Linked DNA regions of Homo sapiens: region 1 is linked to region 2. Evidence: promoter capture Hi-C in 16 types of primary human blood cells and fetal thymus (Javierre and others, 2016). All regions are on one chromosome and are shown on one strand. Each heading gives the region's core, a stretch centred on a gene start or on the middle of the fragment in contact. The rest is flanking DNA. Distances are from core to core; before and after follow the strand shown. Region 1 overlaps MED30 (mediator complex subunit 30). Region 2 holds the start of SAMD12 (sterile alpha motif domain containing 12).

Region 1 (6,629 bases), core at 2,148-4,647, 1.1 Mb before region 2:
AACTGTACTTTGTTTTTAACTTCTTGGTTGAGGTCAGCAGCATGCTGCATTTATATAATAGTAATATTAAAATTGTAAATTTTTTTTTAAAGTTACACTTCAAAAATTAAAGGGGAAAAAGTATTTCAAGTCAGAGGGTTTATCACAAAGTTTTTCTAGGTCTGTTTTATAGCAGTGAAACAGGTATGCCAAGTTGTTAATAAATGGGCATGCATTGCTCTTAAATTCTTAAAATTAAACTTGATCAGTTGTGAGGGACAGCTTATGTCTATGCATTGCCTAAAAATTGTTTCTGTTTGTTGGCTTTACTTATAGAAAATCTTGATTTTTTTTTCATTACTTGATATTTTTATTCTTTGTTTTTCCTGATAAGCTGCCAAATGGTGTCACTTACCACACTGGAACATATCAAGACCGGTTAACAAAGCTACAGGATAATCTTCGCCAACTTTCAGTTCTCTTCAGGAAGCTGAGATTGGTATATGACAAATGCAATGAAAACTGTGGTGGGATGGATCCCATTCCAGTCGAGGTAATTTTTTGTGATAGAGGGAGGATGAATATAAGGTGTGAACTAGTGTCAAGACAGTTGTTAATCTTTTTCCTCTCTCTCCTGTTTTAGCAATATTTCCAGGTTTCGAATTTTATTGGTTTTACTTTTGACCAGAGAAGATGAAAATGTGATATATATGCATAAAATACTACTATATTTTTACATTAACAATTTCTTGTAGACTTTGACAGGCTTATAGTAATTTTTGTTGTTGTTAGGAAGAAATGTTTTCCTATGGCAATTTTTATTGCTGTCAGTGTCTCCTTTTAATTAAGTCAGGGATATTTTTAGTAGGAATTTTAATAGTATCATATACTTTTAAGGTGGTTTTCATGAAGTACTTTACAGATAAAATATTATTTTTATTATTATTAATTTGGATTTTATATTTAGCCCAGTGGAATCACTATATTTTAAAAATATATTCTCTAAATTTAATCTTGGGTCATACCTATTTAGTTAATTAGGCATATATTTCTATAAGTCACCCTTTCCTGTTGACAAATTATATCTCTGCCACCAAAGGAAGCTGGTAAGAGATGACCAGAGAAAAATTAAACTGCAAAAATGCCTAAAAAGAAGGGGTCAGAGATGTGGGAGAAAGATCAGAAATGTGGCCTACATCGTCAGATGCTACAGAGAAGTCAGGGAAAATAAGGAATGAAAACTGTCCAGTAGATTTTGCTAGATGAAAATTGTTGGTATATTTGAGTAGAGCTTCAGTGAAATGATAGCAGCGTGAAGTCTGATCCTAGTCGGGTGAAGATTAAACAGGAAATAAGAAGCTGGAGCCGGCAAGTGGATATCAGTCTTTCAAGAAGCTTTGAAAAAAATAAGAGAGGAAAGCAGTAGATGGAAGGAGAGATGGAATCGAAGGTTTGCAGGAGGAAGAGGAGCTTCCCTCCAAATAGAAGAGATAGGAACATGTTTGAATAATAAAGGAAGAAAGCTGTAGGGAGAGGTTGAGAGAAAGGTGTATAAATAATGAAGACAGGAGGGCAGAGTAATCAGGGCACAGGAATGGAGACTAATCGTCTTCAGGAGGAAGGACAGCTCTGCATTGAGACAGATGAAAGAAAGAAAAGGAGAATGTAGACATGGGTGAGTTTATATATATCCCAAGAATTTGAAGAAGTTTTATCAGGTGAATCCTAGTTTTACCAGTCATTTACCTTTAGCCTATTCTTGCATTGGTAATACACGATGGTAAAGGCTAGGTGATTCCTGAAGTCTGCCACACTTATGCGGTAAATTCCATCACTAACCATGCATACTTAATTACGATTCTGCTAGAAGTTTCATTGCTATATAAATTTGTTTCTCCTACAAAGAAAAAGTTCTCACAACTGCGAAAACTTAAGACATCTAGAAGTTTGCATAGACTCTGAAGTTTTAGATTGCAAGTTAATGACAATTATATAATACAGATCCGTGAAGTTCTTTTCTTTTTATTGCAGATGAAGGAAAGCCTGTTTTATCTATCTCAATAGACTACAAATCTCTTAGGGGCAGGAATCACATCTTGTTTGGCATTACTTTTATAGTGTTTCATAATTAAATATTTGCTGATTGAGTAGGGTTTTTTTAAATTTTTATTTTATTTTATTTTATTTTTTACTTCTCCCATCTTCCTGCTGGAAGTATTGTTTAGTTGTACATGACAACCAATGTTATAAAGGCTGTTTTGCAAAAGAAACCTGAAAGGGTAATGCATAGAATGCATTGAAATGGTCAACTATTAAAGCTCTTATTTCAGGCCATCACCTGAATTGAAATTATTTTTATACAAATAAAAGTATAAAAATTGACCTTAATCTGATATATTCTCTATACAAGTGATTAGAAAACTTGAATTATATTTTTGCCTTTTAATTTTTGTTAATCATTCCCAGCAACTTATTCCATATGTGGAAGAAGATGGCTCAAAGAATGATGATCGGGCTGGCCCACCTCGTTTTGCTAGTGAAGAGAGGCGAGAAATTGCTGAAGTAAATAAAGTGAGTTGTTAGTTTTTACATTTTATGTTTTAGAGTTATTGATAAAAATTACTAGGGAGTCTGATGTAACTCCAAAACATAATTTGAATTATCAAATTACATGAAGTTGTTTCTGCGGCAAACTTCACCTATTTAGAATACAGCCAAGAAATGAAAGGTAAGCAGAAATGCTGTCTGAATAGTCAGAAGAGAAATTGCAAAATTCATTCGATAAAGCTCTTAGAAGAGCTCCTTAGACACTTAGTCACAATCCATTTACTTTTTTCTTTTCTGGGCAGAATTCTACCTTTCTAGCTTATAGCATATTTGGAGCAGCAAATGATAAAAATTTACAAATATGAAATGTGAATGTCTCAACACCTGAATAAAAAATTTAGAGAACTATCCCAGCATTATTATCTACTCCAACCCCACAAAAAGCTTGTAACTGGAATGTATTTATCGCTGAATACTTTCAAAAGTTCAGAAGATAATGTTCAAATAGTTCTCGTGAAACAGAGAGAAATAGGGAAAGGTGTCAGTTCATTCTGGGGATGGAAATGTGGCCCCAGCTTAGCAAAACCTACCAGAGATAGCACAGTGAATAAAACTTTCAGCATCACTCTTTCACTGACAAATATAGATTGCCCCTTCCTGAAATTCTTAATTCTAATTAATAGAACTCATCAGTGTATTAATAATCCACCACTGCCAAAGAGAGTCTTCTGAGGTATATGAAGATTTTATAGTTCAGTTTGTATGTATAATACATGATGTCAGTAAACTACCTTGAAAAAAGATTTTCTCACATGTCTAAAAGACATCTGATAAAATTCAATACTGTTGCTGATTCAAAGGACACTTAAAACTATTAGCAAGACAGTGTGTTTTTTTTTTAAATCTTTTTCTTTTAGATAAATACCCAACATTTTTCATAAGGTGAAATATAGAAATATCCTTATTAAAAACAAGCATGAAATAAGATACTTTATAACACTATGTTTAATATTATTTTAGAAGTTATAGCCAGTACAAAAAGACAGTGGACAAATGACAGTTGGGAAACAGGAGTTACTATGTATGAGCTTGTTAGAATGGTCAAAGAAACTCAACTGATGAACAACTAGTCTATAAGAGTTCCGTAAAAGGGTCTAAGACAAGACTGATACCATGCTCTTACAATGCTGTAAACCTATTAGATTATAAGATTCTATTGACTCTTGTAACAATTAATATTAAGTAGATAGGAATTATGTCAATAATGTGTATGAATAAACTTATTAAGATACATAAAGGAAGCTTTGAATGATTAAAAGAACATATAAAGTTCTTGGATGAGCAATACATATTATAAAAATACCAGTCTTGATTTAATACTCACAGTTTTAATACAGTAACAATCCAAATCCTAATAAGAAAGCATGCAAAAACAATAGGATTTTAGTGCAATACCAATCAATAAACAAATCCAAATAAAACCCAAATGGAATTTTTTTCTTGAAAGTATACAAAAATATCAAAGAAAATGTTGATAAATACGACTAATAAAGCAGAATTCTTAGCTTCAAAAATTAAACTGTAATATGAAGCATATTATAAAAATGGTAATTAGGTGTATAATACTGGCACAAGAATAGGCAGATTAGTAAAATAATCTAGCCAGAAAAACAGCCTTCTTATTGTACATGAGAATTTAATATGACAGAAGAGGGCTTGTGTGGAAAATTAGTCTTTAGAAATAGAAACTTTGGGGGCGAAATTAAGCTAGCTTTTACATTACACCATAAATCAAAATGAATTTCAGAGTTGAAAATAAGACCTGCAAAACAAAATATTGGATAATTTTTTAAGTATTTTAAAACTCGGAAGAAAGGAAAAAGATGGATAGATTTTATAAAATAAAATTTTGTAACTTTTTTAAAAGGTGAAACACACATTTAGAAAACTATTTCCAAAAAATCTGATTGTAATACATGACAATCATAATAAAAAACTCACAGTAAAAAATTGGTAGAGGGTGAGGAGGAGAATGGGAACTTTTAGTTTAGATCTTGAAAAATAACTGGTGTTTGGTAGTCTAGATGTATGAGACATTCACTTATTAAGACGTGTTATATGTTTCTGTTGATAAATATGTATTACCTCAATAAATGTGTTCTGCTTATGTTTCTCTAATGATTTTTTTATAAAATATAATGAAATATGTATATAAATAAAACACCATTATAATAATAACTTTGGTTTCAGAGTACCACATGTGTAACTAATGTAAACATAGTTTGTTCTGTACCATAGAGGATTTTATAATATTTTGTAAAAAATAAAGCTGTGTAAATTCAGAAAGATACTTTTTCTATATTTACATTTCTCTTCAATTTTCATTAAGTTTCTCTTTTTTCCCAATTTGATAACTTAGAAATAACATGTCTTTGACTTTTAAAAGTTCTCTTTTATAATCAAAATATGGTAATTCTTTGGCAGCATGTAACCAAAAAAAAAAATCTTACTATCTACTGACATAGAGTTTTGTGGATTTTAAGTAAAGGATATAATTGAAACAAGGATATGATGTATAAAAGGACTTCTTTCTCCCCATGAGGATTTAGCTCCCTACAGCCTCTCTCTCCTGGACCCACCTACATAATTGTTTCCCTCAAACCTTTCAGTGCACTTATATCATATTTGGGGTTCAGTAAATAATCTGTATCATATAATTATGGCTTCATAAGTATTGTTTATTGCTAAGCCGCATAGTATACTAGGGTCATATTTCCTTGATTGAATAATTTTTTGTTTTTCTGAAGTTAATTCTTACCTCTTTAATTTTCTAAAATTTTAGTTAGTTTTTTATGCATCTATGACAACATCTCAGTACTATTTTCCAATTTTCCACAGTCAGAATCATCAGACAGTTTCATGGTTCTCATCCCACCCTCCCAAGTTTTCTATGGTCTTATAGGTCTGGATGGAATGCTGGCTAGGCCTGCTTTTCAGCTCTGGGGCTTTCCTTCACCTCTTCTGTTGGTTTCACTATTTCTTCAGCTCATGTCTTCCCTTTTCTTGGTTTTCTTCCTTGTTGGTGATGTGCATACATCAGTGACTTCTTTAGAAGGAATGCAGACACTTAAATTTTGAGTCCTTACATATTTGTCCAGTTGATAGTTTGGCTGGCTATAAAATTCTATGTTGTAAGTTATGTTTCCTCAGAAATTTGAAGGCATTCCATAATCTAGTATAGGGTTTGGCAGACTTTTTGTTTAAACTACTAGATAGTCAATCTTTTAACCATTCCTCCAGTTTTCATTCCCAGGGCTCACCTGGTGCCTCTGAGATGGTCTCTGTCTGTGGTTCTCCATGGTGGATCAGGCGTATTCTCGGTGGCATCCCTCTTGCATGCCCAGGCCTTCTCTGAGTCACTGACCACTCCCTCTTTACTTTTCATCTGAAAATTTACCTTGCATCTGCTGTTGTGTCCTTTCTGATCACTTTTCTCTGCATCAGTTTATAGCTTTTTTTATTCCTCTCCTGCCACACACTCAATAGATACACAATGTTTCTGAAAGTTTGTGTATATTTACGGAATGAAAGTATTTTAAATTTTTTTCCCCATTTTTACTTCTGACATTGAGATCTCTTCCTTTGATTAAATGACTTGGATCTGTTCTAAGTGCTTTTAACTTCAGGATAAAACATGTTTTAGTTAACGTGATATCAAACTGATGGGTTATTACAAAGAGAAAAGAATCAGTTTAGGTGTTTTAAATGAACCAGGTTTAAAGCTAAACTCTATTTCTGTGGGAATTGCTTTTTAAAAGACAATTTAGAGGTAAAGTACCTTCTTGAGTATCATGGGGAAGAACTCATTTGATGACCTCATAACTCTCTTTGTATGAATTCTTCTACCTATATTTTGAGAAAGCACTGAAAGATTAGGTGGTGGGCACAGGGAAAAGATGGGAGAGGGCTAACATTTGGTTAACTTAAATTTAAATCCCAAATAAGGAAGAAGAAAATAAAATTAACTGCTAAAAGGCAAACAAATTGTTTTTTTTTTTTTTTTTTACCAAAAGGGCTTTTTAATTCATTCCTTAAAAAAATAT
Region 2 (6,520 bases), core at 1-2,500:
GCAGCAAGCCAGCCTCGTGGCCTTCTCGTCTCTAGCCTACAAGGAATAGGCTGATTTCCCCTTGGCAAGGCGCCTGAAGCAGCTGGCAGGCAAGCCCTCCTCTTCCTACTTCAGTACGCCCTCTGACCTGACTGCACTCAGAAACCAAAATTCTGCAGGTGAATGTAGGCTCCCATTTCGTCCCACAATCATTTCATCATTCAGGCACAGCTTGACCTCTAATGTGACATCACAAACCCTTCCGGTCCACAGTTTTTTTTTCTTCTTCAGAAACTACCTAAACAAGGAAGTTTGTGTTCCAAGGTAAGATAACCTGAAATGAAAAACTCAGGATCCCTCACGAACAGCCTGACCCTGCTTTCAACCAGGAAGTTCAAGGGAGGCAGGACTTTACGGTCAAAACTGCAAAGCCGAAGCTCAAGACTGTAAGAAGAAAGTGATCTTCAAAGAAAAGGATTCACCCAAATCGAAGAGGTTGTTGCACTTCTTTTCCCTGGCTGATTACATTTCATGTCTGTAAACTTTGCTAAGCCCGGGGCGCTGGCTGTATAAGCAGAGACAGGTGTAGGGACACCTCTACCCTCTGGGTACATCTGCGGCCGCCGCTGCTGGGTGCATAGGACGAAGGGCCCTCGACCCAATCCCAGTCCAAGCTTCCGGATGACGCACCTGGGCTGGGGACCTCTCCCACGTGAGGGGGGCCAACCAAGCATCCCCAGCCCCGGGGCCACCCAGCCTGCTCCGGAGGGAGGGGGCAGGGAAAAAGGGCATCTCGGGGCCAAAACCTCATGCCGGATCCTCCGGCTTTCCCCCCATTTCCAGGATATCGTTTCGCATCAGGGACACTCGTCTCCACACCTCCTACCTCAAAGTCCTACGCACCTACCCTTCACGTCTCTCCAAAGCAACTGAATTAAAGCGCCTACTGGCCTTGGCGGCGCAGGTGAGTGCCAAGAGGTGGAGGAGGAAGGGGCCCGCTCTCCGCCACCCCCTTTCCTCGCCTCCCCACGATCGCCAAGCTTCATCGGGGATGTGTGCCTTGGGGTGCGCGGGTTAAGAGGGAGCTTAAAAATGCCCCAAGCGTCCCTTACCTTCCACAGCCATTCTCTCAGAGCTTCCCTAACGCATGCATAATTTTCTTGGCCGAGGTACTCCTCCTGCCCCGCGCTCCCCCCTTCCTCTCGCTTTCGCCTAAATATTCTGCGCTTATCTGCTCCAGGACCAACCTGCCGCGGTCACGCAAAGCGAGGCAGCCGGCTCCCGGCTCGGCGCGCGCAGGGCGTCCTGGGAAGTGTAGTTCCCTCCCTTCGCTCGGACTGGGGAGAGCACCCCGACTCCTCCGCGGAGTGCCGCCTGGCCCCGACACTTGGAGAGCAACTCCAGCTTCAGCTGGCCAGGCCGAGCAATCTCTCCTGGGGAAGTTGTGAGGGGACCAGGGATGCCTGGTTGTGGCGGGGCGGGGGGGGAGGGGGGGGGGGTTCCCGGGAAGCGGTCTGGACTACATCTCCCAGGAGGCCGTGCGCTGAGATAGGTTCGCTGCTAAGAGTAGGGACCCGTGATTGAGCCCTTCCCTGTCCATTACAAGGGGTTTGGCACCTAGCAGGTGTGGTGAGGTGGGCAGGTGACGGTCAGCTGTGTGATGAGCTCCTGCGAGCTCGTCCGTGGGCCTCTGCCGCCGGTACCGCCCCGCCCCCTGGCCTCCTGAACCACCATTTAGTAGGGAGAGCAGGACCACTGTCCTCCTGTGTGGTTCTCCACCTGGGCCAGAGAACGCTGCCCAGGGTGAGGTTGAAACTTGTTCCTTCGCACCCTGAGATGTATGGGTTTTGTGGGGGAATTCCGACGGTTGATACAGTTGTCTTATCCTACAGGGTGGTTCAGGTGGCTAAATACTTGGCATGGGGGTGTAGGGGAGGAGGAGTGGCTTAAACCCCAATAGGCAACGTCCCCAAGGGGTTGTTAGGAACAAAGTCTGGGAGCCAGGATTGCACCGGAGGAGGTCAGATGAAAGCCTGTCTGGCTTCCAGGATAGGAGGCTTTCAATTTGCCTAGACTTGGAGCCTGTTGACAGCCTGTGATAGGGCCTAATAATTAACAGTGCCTGAGAATCAGGTTCCTTCAACTTCTGAACCTATGTCCTAGCTGTAGGTGCTGGGGATGCTATAAGCAGACATGATAATGGGAATCACGTGGATAGCAATACAATTCGACAGCTCGTAAAAATTAAGTTTCTAAACATTTTTTCCTGCGTGTGAAAATACGGATACAGTTGTGGCTGGAAGGGGTAAGGGAATAGCCTCGGGAATAAATCTGGCTCAAGACTGGATTGACTTTTAAAGGCCTTCAGTTTACAAATGTATTTGGTACCACATCCACCCAGTCACTCATATATAATGTTAATCTCTGTAAAATGAGGAAGTACAAAAATCGGATTCTTCCCATGATGACTACTTAGACATTTTTGTGTGTCTTGGTCATCAGCAAAAAAAAAAAAATGTTTTTCAAAACAATTTCGTTTCTCAGTGTATACATGCACACCTGTTGTTCTGGTCACTAATTACATGCTTAGTTCCCCTACTGGGTAATATATAATAATAATATGTGTATAGGTACTTTAAAAAATACCTGCGTGTAACCATTAAATGCTCTTGTTGATACTTTAATTCTGAGTCCATGGAGCTGTGTACAAGTCAAACCTAAGCCTCTCTTTTAGGTACAGTAGAGAGAGACCCATTCAGTGAGACATAATTTCCATGGGAAAAAGAATTTTCCGACCTAATACACAGCCAAGCATTCTAAACTCTGGAAAGAACTGAAATCCAGGTGCTTCACTACTTTATGTATATAAAATCACCAAAGTGTTAAGTATTTTCTGAGATTGAATGAATGTGAAAGAAAGCCATAGGACAGGTAGTATCAATGGTTCTCAACCTTGGCTGTGCATCAGCCTTCTACAAATATATATTCCTAAGCTTTTATCTTAGTCTCACAGAATCAGAGCTTATGGGGGTTTGGGTAGAGGCACTCAGGTTTTAAAAACCCACAGGTGATTCCAGTCTTCATTGAGGGTGAAAACCATTGGTCTGGTTCCAAGCTTTTAAATATCTGGGTGATATAAAAATATAAAAGTCATTGAAATCTGTGGTTAATTTTAAAACTTCATCTTAGCTCATCTTTAATATTTTTCCCAGTGATGTGCATTCTAGACGAGTTTTATTTTTAGTATAAATAAAATGTGAAGGAGATGTTAGTTTCTACCATATGAAATAGCCAATGTTTGACCATTTTTAAAACCTACAAATAGAACAATTTCATGTGGTTCTGCCTAATAAGGGATAAACAATAGTTGCGCAGAGGTTTTCAATTCTGGCTGAACATTAGAATCACCTGGGAAGTACTAAAAAAAAATTACATTTATCTCTAGAATGTTTGAAAGATAAAGACACAAAATACCAACCGTTGGCAAGATTGTGAAGCAATAAAGATTTATATATTGCTGGTGGTGTGCAAATTCACAAAACCACTTTGGAAAACCATCTGAAATATTCAGCTGAATATATGCTTATCCTGTGACCCAGAAGTTCTACTCCTAGGTTTACACCAAACAAATATGCATACAGATGTTCTCCAAAAGACATGTGCAAGAATGTTTGTGGCTGCATTATTTTAATGTTCCCAAATGGAAAACAACTCAAATATTTATCAACACAGATTGGAGAGATGAACTGTGGTATAACCAAATAATTCCATATAGCAGGGGTCAACAAACTAAGACCAATGAGCCAAATATGGCTCACCATTTATTTCTTATAACTCACCAGCTAGGTGTGATTTTTACATTTTTAAATGGTTGGAAAAAAAACAAAAAAAGTATAATTTGCAAAGCCTGGAAATTATAAAGACATACTTACATAATATCCTCAATTTTGCCTCTTGTCCTACAAAGCCTCAAATATTTCCTACCTGATCCTTTGCAGAAAAAAAGCTTTCCAAACCCTCCTATAAAGTAATGCAAATGAAGGAATTACAATTGTATACAACAACATGATGAGCCACATGTATTAATCGATTGCTGTTAACAAATTATCCCAATATTTAGTGGTTTACAACAATACCCATGTATTACTTCAGTTTCTGTGGCTCAGTAATTTGGGCACAGCTTAGCTTCTGCTTTAGTATCTTTCACAGACTGCAATCATGACTTATTTTTGGTCTTTTTTATCAGCAGCCAAGTACAGTTCCTAACAGATATACCCAATTTTAGCAAGGGGCAAAGTCCAGACCTCATCCCATACCTCTCATAAGCCAAATTCTGTGTTCATTATGATGCTATTGTTTGTTCCTTATAGTATATAAGCACTTCGAGTGCTGGAACTGAGTCTTATGCTTCATATCTTCCAGATTCTTGGTCATAATTGTGGTTACATAGTAAGTACTCAATAGATAATTTATTACTACTATTTTTTTATCCTTGTTATAAGTAGCATTTGTTGGGAAATTACAAGTGCCAAGCTCTGTCTAAGCATCTTGACATACATCATCTCCTTTAATCACTACAATATTGTCAGATATCACTATTTTCCAGATGAGGAAATTGAAGCTCAGTGAATTTAAGTAATTTGCCCCATGTCTCCAAAACATGAATTGTAGCAAGGGGATTGAGGTCTACCTAAGTGTAGAACTCTGTGATGTTACTCCATCTAGATTTCAATACTGATTACGTGATCACAAATCTGAATTCATAAGCACTTGGCCAAATAGGAATTGTCATTACTAATAAAATGAAGGGTTTAAAATATTTTAATATCAGAAATTGTGATATTTAGAATGATTCAAAAATTTCTGAATATATCAGAGAGCACAGAAAGGGAAGGAAAAGCCCATTACCTTATAGTGAATTAAATAAAAAAAGAAATATTGAGATGAGGCTACAGATTTCACTGGATTCTAAGATTTAAAATAGTACATATAAGTACTTTACTGTATTTATTGTTCTAACTCGGTTGCTATATTCACAAGCCTCTACAGAAAACATTCATAAATCTCAAAAAGTAAATAGATTATGTTTCTATTCTGTTCAGGGAGATCTTCTAAACCTAACCAAAAGGATTCAAACCCTAAAAAGTAAAATTTTTGACAGGAGGAACTGAGAGGAAAAAAATAATTTTTTTGTAATTAAGATAAAAAATACTAACTCTAATCCTTGAGTCATGAATAAAGTGCCAACCATTCAAGTTATATCAGGCTTCCATTGGAGGAAGTAAGCATATTTCAGGGAACATGATTTAAGCAAAAGCCTAGTTGTTTTTGCTTAAATCACATTGTGCATAATTAAATCGCATTGTGTGTTATCTGTTTGTTGATAAGTTGGTGATATTCTATACCATCGTTCGTCTAAACTATACTTTCAAAATCAGACTTAAATTATGTCTTCAAAATTTGAGCAGAATCTGTCTACCTTTATATTAACTGGTTATCTGAATATTTGGCTTCAGTACTCAAGTTTCGTAGACATACAGAACTAGATTGTAATCCTGACTCTCATTTACTCGATGTTGGTTATTAGCAAAGTTCTTTGACATTTCTGTGCCTTGGTTTTCCCACATGTATTGTAATGCTATTAATTGTGTAATGTATACATTACCTAGCTCACAGTTTGGGGCTCAGCAGTGACTGAGAGAGTATCTATAGTGTTGTGCGCTGTCCTGGCACATAATGGATGCCCAATAAGTGTTTGCTCTTTTGATCATCCATGGAAGCCTGAGAGGCCATTCCCAAAGAACATGGATATAATTCAGTTAAGCAGTAGCAAGGGCCTCAGGATATTTGCCAAGTGTGGAGTAAGTCTGCCCAGTCCGACTTGTAGTTAAGCCACTGAATGAACTTAACTTGATCAATGCAGAGCCTCCTCTGACAGGCAAGAAAACAGGGCTGTGCCATGGAAGAGCAGTGTCCTGGACACTTGTCCCTTTTTGGATAGGTTTTGTTGATAGAAAAGAGTGTGGGATTATTGTAGGCTCTAGTGGCTGACTGCATACAAACTTTCTGTGTTCTGGATTTCCAACCCTGAAGTATTAGGTTGGTGTAAAAATAATTGCAGTTTTTGCCATTTTTTTTTTTAATGGTAAAAACTGCCATTACTTTTGCACCAACCTAATAAATTTGCAGCACCTCTTCTGAGCAGAGTTGCCCCTACTTCCCCAACCAGGGGAAATTGTAAACTGTGTGTAAAAGCATAGGAATGGTCATCTGGAATTACTTGTCATTGGTACACATCAGCACAAGAGAACACTAGAAGAGATGCAACTTATTTTCACAACTGAACTATTCTATGCCAGATGTTTAAAAACTTAAGGTGTGATGGGCTCCCTTTTACTACTACTTCCAAAATGACCAGAAATCTTTACTAGGCAGAGATGCTAAAGCTGACCGCTTACTGTAGTTATTTGACCAGTCCTTTCCCTTCCCTTCTGTTCCTCTGTTAATAATTACCTAATAAACTTTATATTTTTAATCATTA

What was found. Contacts are between HindIII fragments. The CHiCAGO score rates a contact against its expected background, and 5 or more counts as called.
Region 1: a contact is called between a fragment that was not itself captured here and the fragment with the promoter of SAMD12 in region 2, in 1 of 17 cell types (fetal thymus). The highest score is 5.1, in fetal thymus.

Annotation. Positions count from the first base shown.
Region 1 is chr8:117,528,278-117,534,906 of GRCh38, forward strand. It overlaps MED30 (mediator complex subunit 30), which reads left to right. Exons shown (of 4, transcript NM_080651.4): 2 at 374-532; 3 at 2,446-2,550. Among named protein-coding and RNA genes, the nearest start is that of MED30, 11 kb to the left of the region's middle. The HindIII fragment of the contact is 858 bases long and covers 2,969-3,826 here.
Region 2 is chr8:118,620,713-118,627,232 of GRCh38, forward strand. It overlaps SAMD12 (sterile alpha motif domain containing 12), which reads right to left and starts at 1,251. Exons shown (of 4, transcript NM_207506.3): 1 at 1,092-1,251. The coding sequence starts at 1,104. SAMD12-AS1 (SAMD12 antisense RNA 1) reads left to right here and starts at 289. Exons shown (of 5, transcript NR_038210.1): 1 at 289-474; 2 at 823-943. RefSeq lists enhancers at 244-293, 324-533, 1,144-1,343 and a silencer at 1,444-1,593. The HindIII fragment of the contact is 1,953 bases long and covers 1,018-2,970 here.